Regions from separate parts of the Homo sapiens genome. Here region 2 is linked to region 1. The links are contacts of gene promoters, found by promoter capture Hi-C in human tissues and cell types (Jung and others, 2019). All regions are on one chromosome and are shown on one strand. Each heading gives the region's core, a stretch centred on a gene start or on the middle of the fragment in contact. The rest is flanking DNA. Distances are from core to core; before and after follow the strand shown.

The links. The method cuts DNA at HindIII sites, captures the fragments that hold promoters and counts their contacts. A contact is called where the count stands out against the background at its distance.
Region 2: a contact is called between a fragment that was not itself captured here and the fragment with the promoter of PDRG1 in region 1, in 1 of the 25 tissues and cell types used here (mesenchymal stem cells).

Annotation. Positions count from the first base shown.
Region 1 is chr20:31,948,398-31,955,649 of GRCh38, forward strand. PDRG1 (p53 and DNA damage regulated 1) reads right to left here and starts at 3,649. Exons shown (of 5, transcript NM_030815.3): 1 at 3,478-3,649; 2 at 1,915-1,990; 3 at 411-485. The coding sequence starts at 3,564. The HindIII fragment of the contact is 6,454 bases long and covers 1-5,380 here.
Region 2 is chr20:32,210,578-32,217,829 of GRCh38, forward strand. It overlaps POFUT1 (protein O-fucosyltransferase 1), which reads left to right. Exons shown (of 7, transcript NM_015352.2): 3 at 4,692-4,874; 4 at 6,032-6,144. Among named protein-coding and RNA genes, the nearest start is that of POFUT1, 6.3 kb to the left of the region's middle. The HindIII fragment of the contact is 3,127 bases long and covers 2,609-5,735 here.

The sequences.
Region 1 (7,252 bases), core at 2,399-4,898:
CAGGAGAATATGCTAAGGTGCCACTGCTGGGCATCTATGCCAGGACTGGAGTACACACCTCTGGACAATTTCTTATGCAAGAGTAAAAGAAGCATATTTCCTTAAGCCTCAATTTGTTGGGTTTTGTTATCTGCAGCCCAACTGATTCCTCACTAATAAGAAAGCACTATGCTAGGCACACATATTGTTTTACCTCAACTGCACAGCTATGCTACACAGATGCATCCCCCTCTTAGAGATGAGGAAATAACCCACAGTGGCAGAGGTGGAATTAAAACCCACAGCAGTCTGAACCCTGTGACAGAACTGCCTCTCCTTACGCTGCCTGAAGCCTGACTCCCTGTTCTGGGTTAAGACCAAAGCTGGTGGGAGAGGCAGCACACCCCTGACCCATCCCCAGGAGGCCTTACCTTTTTCAATCATTTCCTTTGTCTCAGGGTGAGGCATCTTGATAAACATGTTCCCGAAGCAAACCATCACATCTTCTGAAAGAGCAAATAGTAATTCCTTCAACAATTTTTTTTTGAGTACCTATTATCTGCCAGGCATTGTTTTAGATACAGACAACAGAGCAGAACAAGAAAAAGTTCCTGCCCTCTTGGAGCTTATGTTACAGTGGAGGAGAGAGAATAAAGATATGATTTGTCAGACCTTAAGAGTTGTAGAGAAAAATAAAGCAGGCTAAGATGGCTAGGGAATGCCAGAGGAGGACCTTGTTAATCATAGCAGGTAGTCTGAGAAGGCCTTACTGATTATATGCTATCTACACAGAGACCTAAGGAAAGTGAGAGTGTGAGCCCTGCAGACATCTGGGGAAAGAGTGAGCCAAACAGAGGAAACAACAGGAACAGCAAAGATCAGTAGTGTGCTTGGGGTGTTCAGAACAGCAAGGGGCCGGGCGCAGTGGCTCACGCCTGTAATCCCAGCACTTTGGGAGGCCGAGGCAGGTGGATCACTTGAGGCCAGGACCTCGAGACCGGCCTGGCCAACATGGCGAAACGCTGTATCTATTAAAAATACAAAAATTAGCTGGGTGTGGTGGCACACGCCTGTAATCTCAGCTACTCAGGAGGCTGAGGCACAAGAATCACTTGAACCTGGGAGACAGAGGTTGCAGTGAGCCAAGATCATGCCACTGCACTCCAGTCTGGGTGACAGAGCAAGGCTCTGTCTCCAAATAAATAAATAAATGAATAAATAAAAGAACAGCAAGGAGACCAGTGTAGGTGGAGTCATGTTGGGGGTGGGGGGAGTAGAGATGATATTGGCACACTCATGGATTCATGGGGGCTGGATTACTCGGTCTTGTAGGACCTCTGGATTTTACTCAGGTGAGATGAGAAGCAACTGGAAGATTCTGCACATTCTAGTGTACTTTCAACAAAATGTAAACTTCCTCCCTTAGCCCCCAAGACCTTTCATTATGGCCTGGTCTCTGTCCCTCTCTCCAGCCATACTTACTCCCCATTTGCTTCCACTGCCACAGCCACTTGGCCTCATCTAAAGTGTCCCATTCTTCTGGATATATATTCTCAACACCCACCCCAAGTCCAATTCCATCTCTGGCTTTCTTACAATTTTCAATTACGCATTTTACGTTGTTTTCCTCATCTGTAAAGCACAAGGGCAGGAACCATCAGTTTTATACACCCCCGGCACTCTCTCAGTGTCTGCCATCGTTGATAAGCCAGGAGCTAACGACCTGTCACTGAAGTGAGCAGGCAAAATCCTGAACCACAGTCTGTGCCAGAACTGCAAAATTTGCTCCCCCATCTCCCCGGACTGTTTCAATTTCCCACAAGGCTGAGTTATACAGCTGTGACCTCCTGCCTGATCTCTATCAGGAACAAGGTAAAGGCCTTAAAGGAAAACGGAACAGGCCTCCAGGGCTGCACTGAGAAAATTTCAACTTACCAGAGAGGCTGAGATCCTTCTGCAGGGCCCTCAGGCCCTCTCGATTCTGATTCCTTTTAGTGTCCAGGTCCACAATCTGAAAACCACAGGGACAGGAGGGAACTCAGCTATCTCTTGCCCCAAGCTGTCACCTCTTGACAGACAAGGGTTGCAGAGGCAATGCATTATTCCTGATTACATTCAACGTCCTGCCTAAAATGGATTGATGTGTGAATGTATTTCTTCTCTCACTCAGCTTCCTGGTCTTAAAGACAATGCTTTGTGCAGCTGCCCTCTCCCCAGAAAAGATGCTGAGAAAACATGTGCTGACTAAATGGGAAATTCTGCATTATCCACTCGAACTTTAGGGCATATCAGAATCACCAGGGGAGTGGAAACCCTTCCCCTACACACTGTGATTAAGCAGGCCTAATGTTTATTTTTGGACAAACTTCTCCAGCTGATTCTGAACTAGTAATATGAGAAACCCAACAATACTAGATTGGAACAGCAGGATTGGGGGCACTGAGACAGTGGTAACAACACAATAGCTACTAAGGAAGTGACGCAGTAGTACAGTATACTGCACGAGTGCTGGTTCTGGATTTGGAATACCCAGGTTCGAATCCTGCTATCTGCCTCAAGCTGTGTAATTTCACCTTCCTATTTACTCCTCCTCAAAATGGAGCTACGGACAGTACCTACCTTACAGGTTATTGAGCCAGCAATTAAATGACTTAACACAGTACCTGGCACATAGTAAGTAGCTGATAAACTTTAACTGCTCTTATTCTCATCCAGCACACCCTGATCCAGTACTTAATTTGACAGGATCTTGCCCAAGTTTTCCCCTTCTCAGTAAATACCTGACCCTTCTAACTGGAGATGAGAGGGAGTCACGACTCCCCCGGCTCCACTACCACGGCCTACTGAGTCTGTCTCCAAAATACATTTCTGACCCCTTCACTTCTCTCCACCACCACTACCTAGTCCAAATCCATCTCTGGTCTGGACCATACCAATGGCCCCTCACCCATCTCCCTGCCTCCGCCCTTGCCCACCTATATTCTGTATTCCACACAGCAGCCAGGGGGGATCCTTTTAAAACCTAAATCCAATTACGTCACCCTCCTTCCCCCAGGAACTCCCCTCAAAAACTTGGCACTTAAAACAAGACACCCCATAAACAGGGCGCCACCTTCCCCCACGTCCCCACCCCTGCCCGGTCACAAGGCCCCCTCAGGCTTCTTTTCGGTTCCAGCTCTCCCCTGAGGGCCTTTACAGGGCGGTGCCCCTAGATCAACCATGGGGCCGGGAAGTGCATTTTGAAACAGGTGCTCAGGGAAACGGCCCAGAGCATGATGGGTCGAGATCCACAGAGCATGGCAAGGGGCAGAGAAAGGATGAAGAGAGAGGAATGTCCAGCATAGCGCAGGCGCTCACTTAGTAGCGGCCGAATATTTATCGGCCCAGGTCTGTCGCCTCGGAGCCGTTAACCGCCTGTCCAGGTCAACTCACTGCGACCCCGCGCGCTTTCCCACGGCGCCGGCCGCCAGGCCCCAGCGCCGCGGAGGGGCCTCTCACCTGCCGCTTGTCCGCCAGCACCTCCTCGGCGAGCTCCTCCACTTCTACAAGGTACCGCAGCACTCGCTCTGCCTCGGGTGATAGCATAGCGCCCACCAACTCCGCTTGCGGCTCTCGCGCGACCCCGGGATCTCCGCTTCGACTCCCGCTGCGCACGCGCCGCTCTCTAGGTGCTTCCGGCGCGCCTGCGCAGTTAAAAGAACGGTGGTGCGCAGGCTCTAACACTAGTGCGCCAGCCGGCTGCGAGAGGCGGGGCCTAGCTTTGGGGGCGGGGCTGGAGCGCCCTCTGCAGGCTCAGAGAGCTCAGTCCTCGGGCTGCCTCTGACCCGTTACTCCCTCGGTTCATGCTTCTTGAGCACTTATTATGTGCCAAGCAGTTTTATGTGCTTAGGATGCAGCAGTGAACACAACAAAATCCCTGCCCTCATGGAACTTCATCCTAGTGGGAAACACCGACAATTAATGGCAAAACAATTATATACCGTGGCAGGTAGTGATTAGGATCTGGGAAATATTATTCTTCCCCTGGCTAAGAAACACCAAGAAGGCCCATGTGGCAGTGTGACTTATGTTTAATCTCTGACACTTTCAGTTTCTAATTTATAAAAAGGGGGTGAATAAAAATCCGCCTCAGTGTCTCTCCACAGGATCGGAAGGAAGCAGGAATCAGCTGGGCGCAGTGGCTCATGCCTGTAATCCCAGTACTTTGGAAGGCCAAAGCGGGGGGATCACTTGAGCCCAGGAGTTCGAGACCAGCTTGGGCAACACAGTAAAACCTCCGTTTCTACTAAAAATACAAAAAAAAAAAATTAGCTGGGTGAGGGGGGGCGCGCCCGTTGGTCCCAGCTACTCAGGAGGCTGAGGCGGGAGGAGCACCTGCATCTGGGGAGTCGAGGCTGCCCTGAGCTATGATGGCACCACTGCACTCCAGCCCGGGTGACAAAACGAGACTCTGTCTCAAAAAACAAAGGAAGCAGTAATCACTTTTAATTCCGTTTAACCAGAGTTCACTTGAGCCCCTGTGTTGGGCCCAATGTCCAGAGTAGCTGGCCTATACATAAGGAAGGGACTTGAAAACTATGGGCAGTAAGCAATGAAGTGCTAGCTCAGAAAAGCAGGTGGGTGTGGGTGGTAGGATTGGGAGGACTTCCCAGAGAAGGCAGGCAGGTGGAAAATGGTTACCATCAGAACCAGAGGGTTCCCACGAGGTCTTCACGCCCAAACTCCTCATTGGATAGCTGGAAAAAACAAACCTCAGAGAGAGGCAAGGCTTTGAAAAGAAGGTGAGGGGTGAGCCATGTGGATGCCTAGGAGAAGAGTGTTCCAGGCAGAGGGAACAGCCAGCGTATGTGGAACAGAATGGGCGGGGGGGAAGCAGGCAGGAGGTCAGAGGGAAGGAGGCATTGAGCCCACATGGCTGTAAAAGGCGCTGGGAAAGGACTTTGAAAGTCTAAAGAGCAGAACCGATATTATCACTCTGATGTCTCGCCTCCCTGATTCCAGCGTTTTATTCTCTCCTTTTGACCTCTTGTAACCAAGCCCCTTCACACCCCTTGCCTTACTTGAGTGTCAAAGCAACCTTTGTATGGATGGGATTATTACTGCCCCATTTCACAGCTGCAGACTGAGGCCAGGAGAAAGGCAGTGCCTCATCACACAGCAAGCCAGGAGTGCCTGGTGTCCATGCCATTTCCGGACCCTGAAAAAACCCTCCCCAAAAATTGTGGCCCCAGAAGCCCCAGCAGCACCTCTATGTTGCCTAGCCATTGGCTGCCTTCAACTACCAGAGGCAGAGCTAATTTTTCCTTCAGCCACCTGGTGTGGGGAAGGAGGGAGATTCATTAAGGATTCCTCACTGAGGGTGAATTTGTCGCCAAACCCAGGATGTTTTGTATAAACACCTTCTGGTTCAGAAATGCAGGCACAGGCCCTGAGAAGGAAAGGGGGATGTTTGCCAAAGCAGAAATGGGGCTCACCAGGCATCCCTCGGCCTGGACCCCAGCACTGCGTCTCCTCCACCTTGGGACCCACAGAGGGCTGGACCAGGTTGACCCTTGACCCCTACCACATGGGCCTGGATGGGGAGAGGCTGAGGGAGGCTCCCACATTAGCAGCTTCTTGGCGGTAACTGGCCTTTAGAGGCCACCCCTGGCCACTGGAAATGTTGGGGAGGGGAATCATAGTCATTTCCAAGACTTTGAAATGGTCAGACCCAGAAAGACTCTCGGAGAGCATTTCAATTTCAGAGCCATTTATTTCACAATTATGTATTGACTTCCCAGGCCCTGTGATAGGGATTCTGCCATGAGCAAAACTGGACATGGTCCCTGCTCTCAGGAATCTCCCAGTCTGGTGAGAGAAACAATCAACATAAAACAAGTAAATATATCATATGTCAGGTGGTAAAAAGTGCTACCAAAAAAATAGCGGCTTGATGTGGGGGCTCACACCTGTAATCCCAATACTTTGGGAGGCCAAAGTGGAGAATCACTTGAACCCAGGAGTTCGAGACCAGCCTGGGAAACATAGCAAGACCCCCATCTCTACCAAAAAAATAAAAATTAAAAAGTTAGCCAGATGTAGTGGTGTGCGGCTGTTGTCTCAGCTACTCAGGAGGCTGAGGTGGGAGGATCACTTGAGCACAGGAGTTCAAGGCTGCAGTGAGCTACAATCGTGCCACTGTAACCCAGCCTGGGTGACAGAGTGAGACCCTTTCTCTAAAAAAGAAAAGAAAAGAAAGAGAGAAAGAAAGAAAAAGAAAGAAAGAAGGAAAGAAAGAAAGAAAGGAAGGAAGGAAGGAAGGAAGGAAGAAAGGAGGGAAGGAAGGAAGGAGAAAAGAAAAGATAAGAAAAGAAAAGATAGCACAGGACAAGGTGGAGGTGGAATAATGGAGGGGCTATTTGAGATAAGCTGGTCAGAGAGGGTGTCTTTGAGGAGATGGCATTTGAACAGAAGTGTGGAGGAGATGAGGGGGTGAGCCTTGTGGATATCTAGGGGAAGAGCATTCCAGGCAGAGGGAACAGCCAGTGTATTTGAATAGAATTAGTGAGGGGGAGAGGGTAGGACAGAGAGGAGAAGGAGACATTGAGCACACAGGGCTGTGGAAGGTGCTGGCAGTGCCCCACCCAAAATCCACTAGGGCCTCCCCAGAGGTCACCTGCAGACACTGCTGTGTATGCCTGTGGCTTCCTGCTTCTCTCTGCTCATGGATGCAGGTTGAGAGGGGAATGCAGTGAATTAATATCCACGAGTGTGAACTCCTACCAAGAAAAGAGAGTCGTTAGTGACTGTATACTCTAGCTTCTTTGCCCCTCTGTGAGAGACCCAAGAGGAGGCTGCTATAATCATCTAGGCAGGAGAGGGTGGCCACTGCACCAAGAGATAGCAGTGGGGGTGGTGACCAGTGGTGGGATTCTCAGGGCCTTTGCACATACTCCCCCATCGTTCTGGATTAATTTTCTCCCATGCCTTTATTCACGTGTCACTATTCCATATCCCCCACTGCTCAGCTTGGGGTTACCTCCTCCTGAGGGTCAAGAGTCCTCTCTGGGCCCCCACAGTTTTTTGGACTTCCCTTGTCTCTGTACTTCCCATACCATCTTTGTTCTCTAAACACCTTGCTTTGTAATCATGAGCTCCCCAGGGCAGAGACCTTGTCTGTCTTGTTCACTGGAAAAGTGTCCCCCTCTCTGGGTCATCACCCACCTCCCTGCTGCTGCTCACACAAGCCAGGCGTGGTCCTGCCTCAGGGTCTTTCCACTGGCTGCTGCCTCTG
Region 2 (7,252 bases), core at 2,922-5,421, 260 kb after region 1:
CATTCCATTGGCCAAGGGTGGCAGATGCTATTATCAATTTTAAAGGAGACATGCAGGCACAGGTTATTTAATGACATGTCCAAGGCCACAACCCAGGTAGTCTGGCTTCAGTGCTGCCTCTCACCCCATCAAGGGGCTCCCTTGTCATGCGATGCTCACCGGCCCCCAGTTCCTTGCTTATTCTTTGTGTCTTCCAGTGACCTTGTGTCGTTGTTCATATTGTATCTCCCGGAGCCTGGCAGTAGGAACTTAATTAGTATTTGATGAATTGACTTAATAATTTTCCAATAGACATCAGAAATAATACTTAGTGTGAACAAAACACTTAATTTCATTCTTACAACCTTTTCTCTGCATAGATTTTACTTTTTCCTTTGCATGCCAGTATTTACAGAGGTTTTGAGCAGCAGTCAAAAGCCAGAGTACCAGAGATCATAGTCTGACTTGGGTTCTTACTAGTTGCATGGCCTGGACAGGGTACTTTACCTCTTTGTGCCTCAGTGTCCTCATTTTAAAAATAAGCTGGTAATGATTCTTGTTACCCTCTTGTGGTAAGGACTGAATGTGTCAGTGGCAGTAACACGCCTTCAGTGTTGTCATATGCCGCCTCCCTCTTAGAATCAACTGAGCTTATCAACGTACAGATCCTAGAGTCCTCAGTTAATGGAAACCATTGATGTTCTGATAATTTCGCACTCACTATTTTTTTTTTTTTGAGATGGAGTCTTGCTCTCTTGCCAGGCTGGAGTGCAGTGGCACGATCTCAGCTCACTGCAACTTCTGCCTCCCGGGTTCAAGCGATTCTCCTGCCTCAGCCTCCTGATTAACTGGGACTACAGGCGCACCACCACGCCCAGCTAATTTTTGTATTTTTAGTAGAGACAGGGTTTCACCATGTTGGCCAGGATGGTGTCAATCTCTTGACCTCATGATGTGCCTGCCTTGGCCTCCCAAAGTGCTGGGATTATAGGCATAAGCCACTGCGCCTGGCCTCGCACTCACTATTACAGTGTAGACATTGCCCATCCATCTCCCTCTGGCTTGCTTGCCTCTGTCTCCTTGCCTTCTCAGCCAGTTGTCTTTCCAAGTCCCCACTTCCTTGCTTTCTGTGGCTTACTAACCTGCTCCAACAAGGCTCTTCTTCGCCACTGTTAGCATTCTCACTGAGGTCACCAGTGACCTCCAAATTGGCAGGGGTTATTTCCCAGTCTTTCTCTCACCTGACCTCCCACTGGCACTTGACCCTGCAAGCTTCTCCTTCCTGAACTTCCCTGTTCCAAGACACCACCTGTCCCTGCTACAATCTAACCTCTCAGCATTTTCCTCTTTCCACTGTATCAGGGGCTCCTTTCTCTCCACCCACTGTTTAGATGTTAGTGTTTCTCCTCTTTCTGTTTGCTTACTAGCTATGTGACCTCAGATGTTATCTAGATTCTGTATGCTTGGGTTTCTTCATAAGTAACCTGGAGATGGTTATATTCCTACCTCAGGATTAAATGTGCAAATCTATGTAAAGTGATGAGTGCAGTACCTAGCACTGTGTCAACATGCAATAAATATTAGTTGCTATTATTACCATTACTTGCTTTGCTATAAATATCTGTTGACTCCTGTGGCTTTTACTCTTCTCCGTGTACCTCCCAAATTTATCTGTGGCCCAGACTCAGACTCCTCCATAATTACAGGCCTGTGTTTCTTTTTTCTTTTTTTTTTTGAGACGAGGTCTCACTGTTGCCCAGGGTGAAGTGCAGTGGCATGATCATCGCTCACTGCAGCCTCCATCTCCTCAAGCAGTCCTTCCACCTCAGCCTCCAAGTAGCTGGGATTACAGGCACCCACCATCACACCCGGCTAATTCTTTGATTTTTAGTAGGGACAAGGTCTCGCTATGTTTCCCAGGCTGGTCTCAAACTCCTGAGTCTAAGCAGTCCTCCTGCCTCAGCCTCCAAAAGTGCTAGGATTACAGACATGAGCCACCACACCCTGTAGAAATTTTTTTGGTTTTGTTTGTTTTTCATTTTTGATGAAGAGTCTCGCTCTGTCACCTAGGCTGAAGTGCAGTGGCAGAATCTTGGCTCACTGCACCCTCTGCCTCCCGGGTTCAAGTGATTTTTGTGCCTCTACTCTTGAGTAGCTGGGACTACAGGCATGTGCCACCACACCCAGCTAATTTTTTGTATTTTTAGTAAAGACGAGGTTTCGCCATGTTGGCCAGGTTGGTCTCGAACTCCCTGCCTCAAGTATTCTACCTGCCTTGGCCTTGCAAAGTTTTAGGATTACAGGCAAAAGCCACTGCGCCCAGCCAGAATTTTTTTTTTTTTTCCAAGACGGAGTTTTGCTCTTGTCACCCGGGCTGGAGTGCAGTGGCACGATCTTGGCTCACCACAACCTCCACCTCCTGGGTTAAAGCGATTCTACTGCCTCAGATCTCCCAAGTAGCTGGGATTACAGGTGCCCACCACCATGCCTAGCTAATTTTTGTATTTTTAGTAGAGATGGGGTTTCACCATGTTGTCCAGAGTGGTCTCCAACTCCTGACCTCAGGTGATCCATCCGCCTCAGCCTCCCAAAGTACTGGGATTATAGGTGAAAGTGACCGCACCCAGCCAGAAATTTTTTAAAATCTAGAAAAATATGCCAGGCGCAGTGGGAGGCGGGCAAATCACTTGAGGTCAGAAGTTCAAGACCAGCCTGGCCAACATGGTGAAACCCCATCTCTGCTAAAAAAGTTAGCTGGGCGTCGTGGCGCCCGCCTGTAATCCCAGCTATTCAGGAGGCTGAGGCAGAAGAATCGCTTGAACCCGGGAGGCGAAGTTTGCAGTGAGCCGAGATCGCGCCACTGCACTCCAACCTGGGAGACAGAGCAAGACTCCATCTCAAAAAAAAAAAAAAAGTAGAAAAATATAAAGATGAGGCTGGGCGCAGTGGCTCACGCCTGTAATCCCAGCACTTTGGGAGACCGAGGTGGACAGATCACGAGGTCAGGAGTTTGAGACCAGCCTGGCCAAAATGGTGAAACCCCATCTCTACTATAGATACAAAAAATTAGCCGGCGTGGTGGTGCGTGCCTGCAATCCCAGCTACTCGGGAGGCTGAGGCAGGAGAATCGCTTGAACCTGGGAGGGGGAGGTTGCAGTGAGCTGAGATCACGCCATTGCACTCCAGCCTGGGTGACAGGGTGAGACTCCATCTCAAAAAAAAAGAAAATTACACAGATGAATACAACCACCAACCATATACCCACCATTAGAAGTGATAATTGTTAACACTTTCTCATGTTTGTTTCATCTTCTCTTTTTGTTAATAAAAGAAATAAAGCGTTACAGATAAAGTTGGTAAAAGATGAAGTCTCTTTTTGGCCCCTGGGGCTAACCCTGTTCCCTTAACAACTGTTGTGGATATAGTGTATTTGGTGTGACTCCTTTGATGTTCCTTCCTATACTTTCATTGTGGCACTGAGCATCCTGGTACTGATCTCCAGGTCCAAAGTGCAAGAACTTCTGTACTTCTCTAGAGCAAATAGTTAGAAGAGGAAGGTACATTAAAAAAAAAAAATTTTTTTTTTGAGACAGAGTCTCACTCTGTGGCCCAGGCTAGAGTACAGTGGCACAGTCACACATCACTGAAGCCTCACCCTCCTGAATGCAAGAAATCCTTCCATCTCAGCCTCCCTAGTAGCTGGGACTACAGATGTGCACCACCACGCCCAGCTAATTTTTTTATTTTTTGTAGAGACAGGGTCTCGCTATGTTGTCTAGGCTGGTCTTGAACTCCTGGCCTCAAGTGATCCTTCTACCTCGGCCTCCCAAAGTGCTGAGATTACAGACATGAGCTACCACACCTGGCCAGAAGGAGCATTTTAAATTCTATTAGATACTCACCGATTGGATCCCAAACTGGTTGCTCCAAAATGTAGACTTCTGCTACCGGCCGTGTAGAAGAGTGCGCATTTCCCCACAAGTTAAGCTTTTCAGTTTTTGCTAGTCTCATGAGTGAGAAGTAATTGATGCCTCGTTATAATTGTAATTTGCTTTTTCCTAATTACTAATGAGGTTAGACATCTTCTGAGTGTGTTGGCTATTTGGGTTTCCTTTGCTGTGAATTGTTTACCCCTAACCTTTGCCTGTGTTTTATCTTGGCATTATTTGTCTTTTTTTGTTACAGATCAGCAGGTGTTTTTTAACACAAGGGATGTTACTGTTTGTTCTTTAGTTTGCAGACTCTCCTGCTAGCCTGTCTATCCTAGCTTTGGCGTCTTTTGATGAAAACTTTTAATTGTCATGTAGTCTGAACTGTCTTGGTCTTGGAGTGTTTTTGTTTTTTTGAGACGGAGTCTTGCTCTGTCGTCCAAGCTGGAGTCCAGTGGCACAATCTTGGCTCACTGCAAGCAACCTCCACCTCCTGGGTTCAAGCAGTTCTCCTACCTCAGTCTCCCCAGTAGCTGGGACTACAGGTGCTCGCTACCACCCCCAGCTAATTTTCTTGTATTTTAGTAAAGACAGGGTTTCACCATGTTGGCCAGGCTGGTCTCGAACTCCTGACCTCAAGTGATCCGCCCGCCTTATCCTCCCAAAGTGCTGGGATTACAGGCGTGAGCCACTGCACCTGGCCTGGAGTGTATTGTTTTAATAAATGTCTAAAGTAGCCACGGGGGCACTGAGACGGGACCTCTGCTCCTCCTTTTCCTGTAGCTCCATGTGTCCTACCAGAAGTACTTCAAGCTGGAGCCCCTCCAGGCTTACCATCGGGTCATCAGCTTGGAGGATTTCATGGAGAAGCTGGCACCCACCCACTGGCCCCCTGAGAAGCGGGTGGCATACTGCTTTGAGGTGGCAGCCCAGCGAAGCCCAGATAAGAAGACGTGCCCCATGAAGGTGGGTCCTGTGGGTTCGGGGGCCCTTTCTTCCTGTTCCATGTCCTCTAGGCCCCCAAGACTATGTCATGGCAAAATGTGGGGAAAAGCACCAGAAGGACTTAGAATAGAAAGATGGAGATTTAAGTCCTGTTTCTGGCATTTGTTAGCGAAGCTGCATCACCTTGGGCAGAAGACTTTGCTTCTCTGAACCTTCATTTCTACCTACAAAATAGAGATGCCAGTCCCTGCTCTGTCTCACTCCTAAAGTGTCATGAGGGCCAGGTGAAAAAGTGCTTGTAAACTGCAAAGTGCCACATCAGTAATAATAACTAATATTCATGTAGCACTTACTATGTATGTCAGGTACCACGCTAAGAGCTTTACATGTATCAACTCATTTAATACTCACACTGTTCCATGAGGAAAATACTTATAATATCCCCACTTCATAGAGAGGACACCGAGGATGGCACAGAGAGGGTCAGTGTCTTACCCAGGATCACACAGCAAACAAGTGGTAGAGCTGGGATTCAACCTTAGGTAATTTGGCACCATTGTCTACCCACTTAACTTGAATACCTTCCTGCATCTCAGCAGGTAAATGAGAGGCTGTCATATCTTATTAAAAGAAATTTATACATTTCTGGCACTTTGGAAATAAACCCCCAAGTATGTCTTTCGGTGTATGTGCTAAAGTCTTGGGAAAGTGGTTGGAAGAACTATGAAATTTGAGAAAGGAGACCTAGCTCACAGCCCCAACAGTGCCCTTACTGGCTGTGTAACCTTGGGTAAGTGTCTGACCCTCAGTGGGCCTTGGTTTCCACCTTGAAAATGAAGGCATTGGATTAGCCAATCTTGAATGTCTCTTGAAGCTCTAGTCCTTGGTTCAAAATCCAAGGTCTGCTTCTCCCCAGACCCTCATCAGTGCTGCTGGGTCAGCAGGATGTGACATGTGAACAGGAAAGACTCTCCTGCTGGAATCCAGAATTGAAGCCACGGCACTCTGCTCAGCCCCTGGCCTAGGAATTGCAGAGTGACATTTCTCCTAGGCCATCCTGTGAGAGTGTTTTGGCCTGAGTCACATCACCCAGCTTCCCCCACCTACACTTCCCTGGCCCCATCCCCAAATGGCTTTCCCTCCCCATCAGTAAGCCTTCCACCACTCTCTTTCTGCAGGAAGGAAACCCCTTTGGCCCATTCTGGGATCAGTTTCATGTGAGTTTCAACAAGTCGGAGCTTTTTACAGGCATTTCCTTCAGTGCTTCCTACAGAGAACAATGGAGCCAGAGGTACTTGGAGGGGGTAGCGTTTCTGGGTTTAGGGGAGGCGCATGGAGCTCATGAGCATTCAGCACCTTCTGGCACTCTCCCCATCTTCCCAACTCTGATGTATGAGACCAAAGGTGCAGGTGCTCTGTCTGTTGAACTTGGAATCCTGTGTGATCTGTTCCCATGTCCACGCCTGACACGGTGGAACATTGACCCGCCATGAGATTGAGAAAGAGTTCATCGGTTGATAAGGGATGTCATAAAAAGAACATTCTGCAGTCGCATGAGTCTCAATTTCCTCCTCTAGGCGTGAGAATCACTCCTGTGTTACCTTACTCTTCCCAAGGTGAAACTGGAAGCAGCTTCTAGAGAACAGCTTCAGGTGCAGACCGAGAAATGACGTCATCCTGATAATTATTGGACGTGTTTATTAATTGCACCCCATTAGCCCCTGTTTTTAAAAAATATAGGTTAGCAGGACGTGGGCACAGGCCGTGAAACATTTATAGGGCGCCTGTCACGTGTGAGACATAGTAATCAGAGGCCAATGGTGATGTGTGAAAATGAGGATGACCAGCTCTGGTTTTCTAGGAGCTATGGTCTCATAATGACAATAATCAGCATAGTGTACTTGTCCTTAATGTTATAGCATGGCAGGAAAGACCATGGGCTTAGAAGGCAGACATTGGTTAGGAGGTGCAGGGAACATACTAATTCATGTGCGGTCAAAGCACTTGGCATTTAATAGGGCAAAGGTAAACAGATGTAGAGAAATGAGTCTCATGCCTGTAATCCCAGCACTTTGGGAGGCCAAGGTGGGTGGATCACTTGAGCCTAAGAGATCAAGGCTGCAGTGAGCCATGATGGTACCCCTGCACTCCAGCCCAGGTTACAGAGCAAGGGCCTGTCTCAGCAAAACAAAACAAGCACAGGCCAAGGAGTGAGATAGCCAGCGCTGATGGTATCTGCCTCGTAGTGCATGAAGTGCATGTCATACACTAAGCAGCCAGCCAGTGTTGGCTGTCAGTGTTATTACTCACATGCTTTATTTTATTTAAGACTTTGAGATAGTTCATGAAGTGGGTATTATTATCAATTTCCATTTTATAGGTGAGGAAACTGAGCCCAG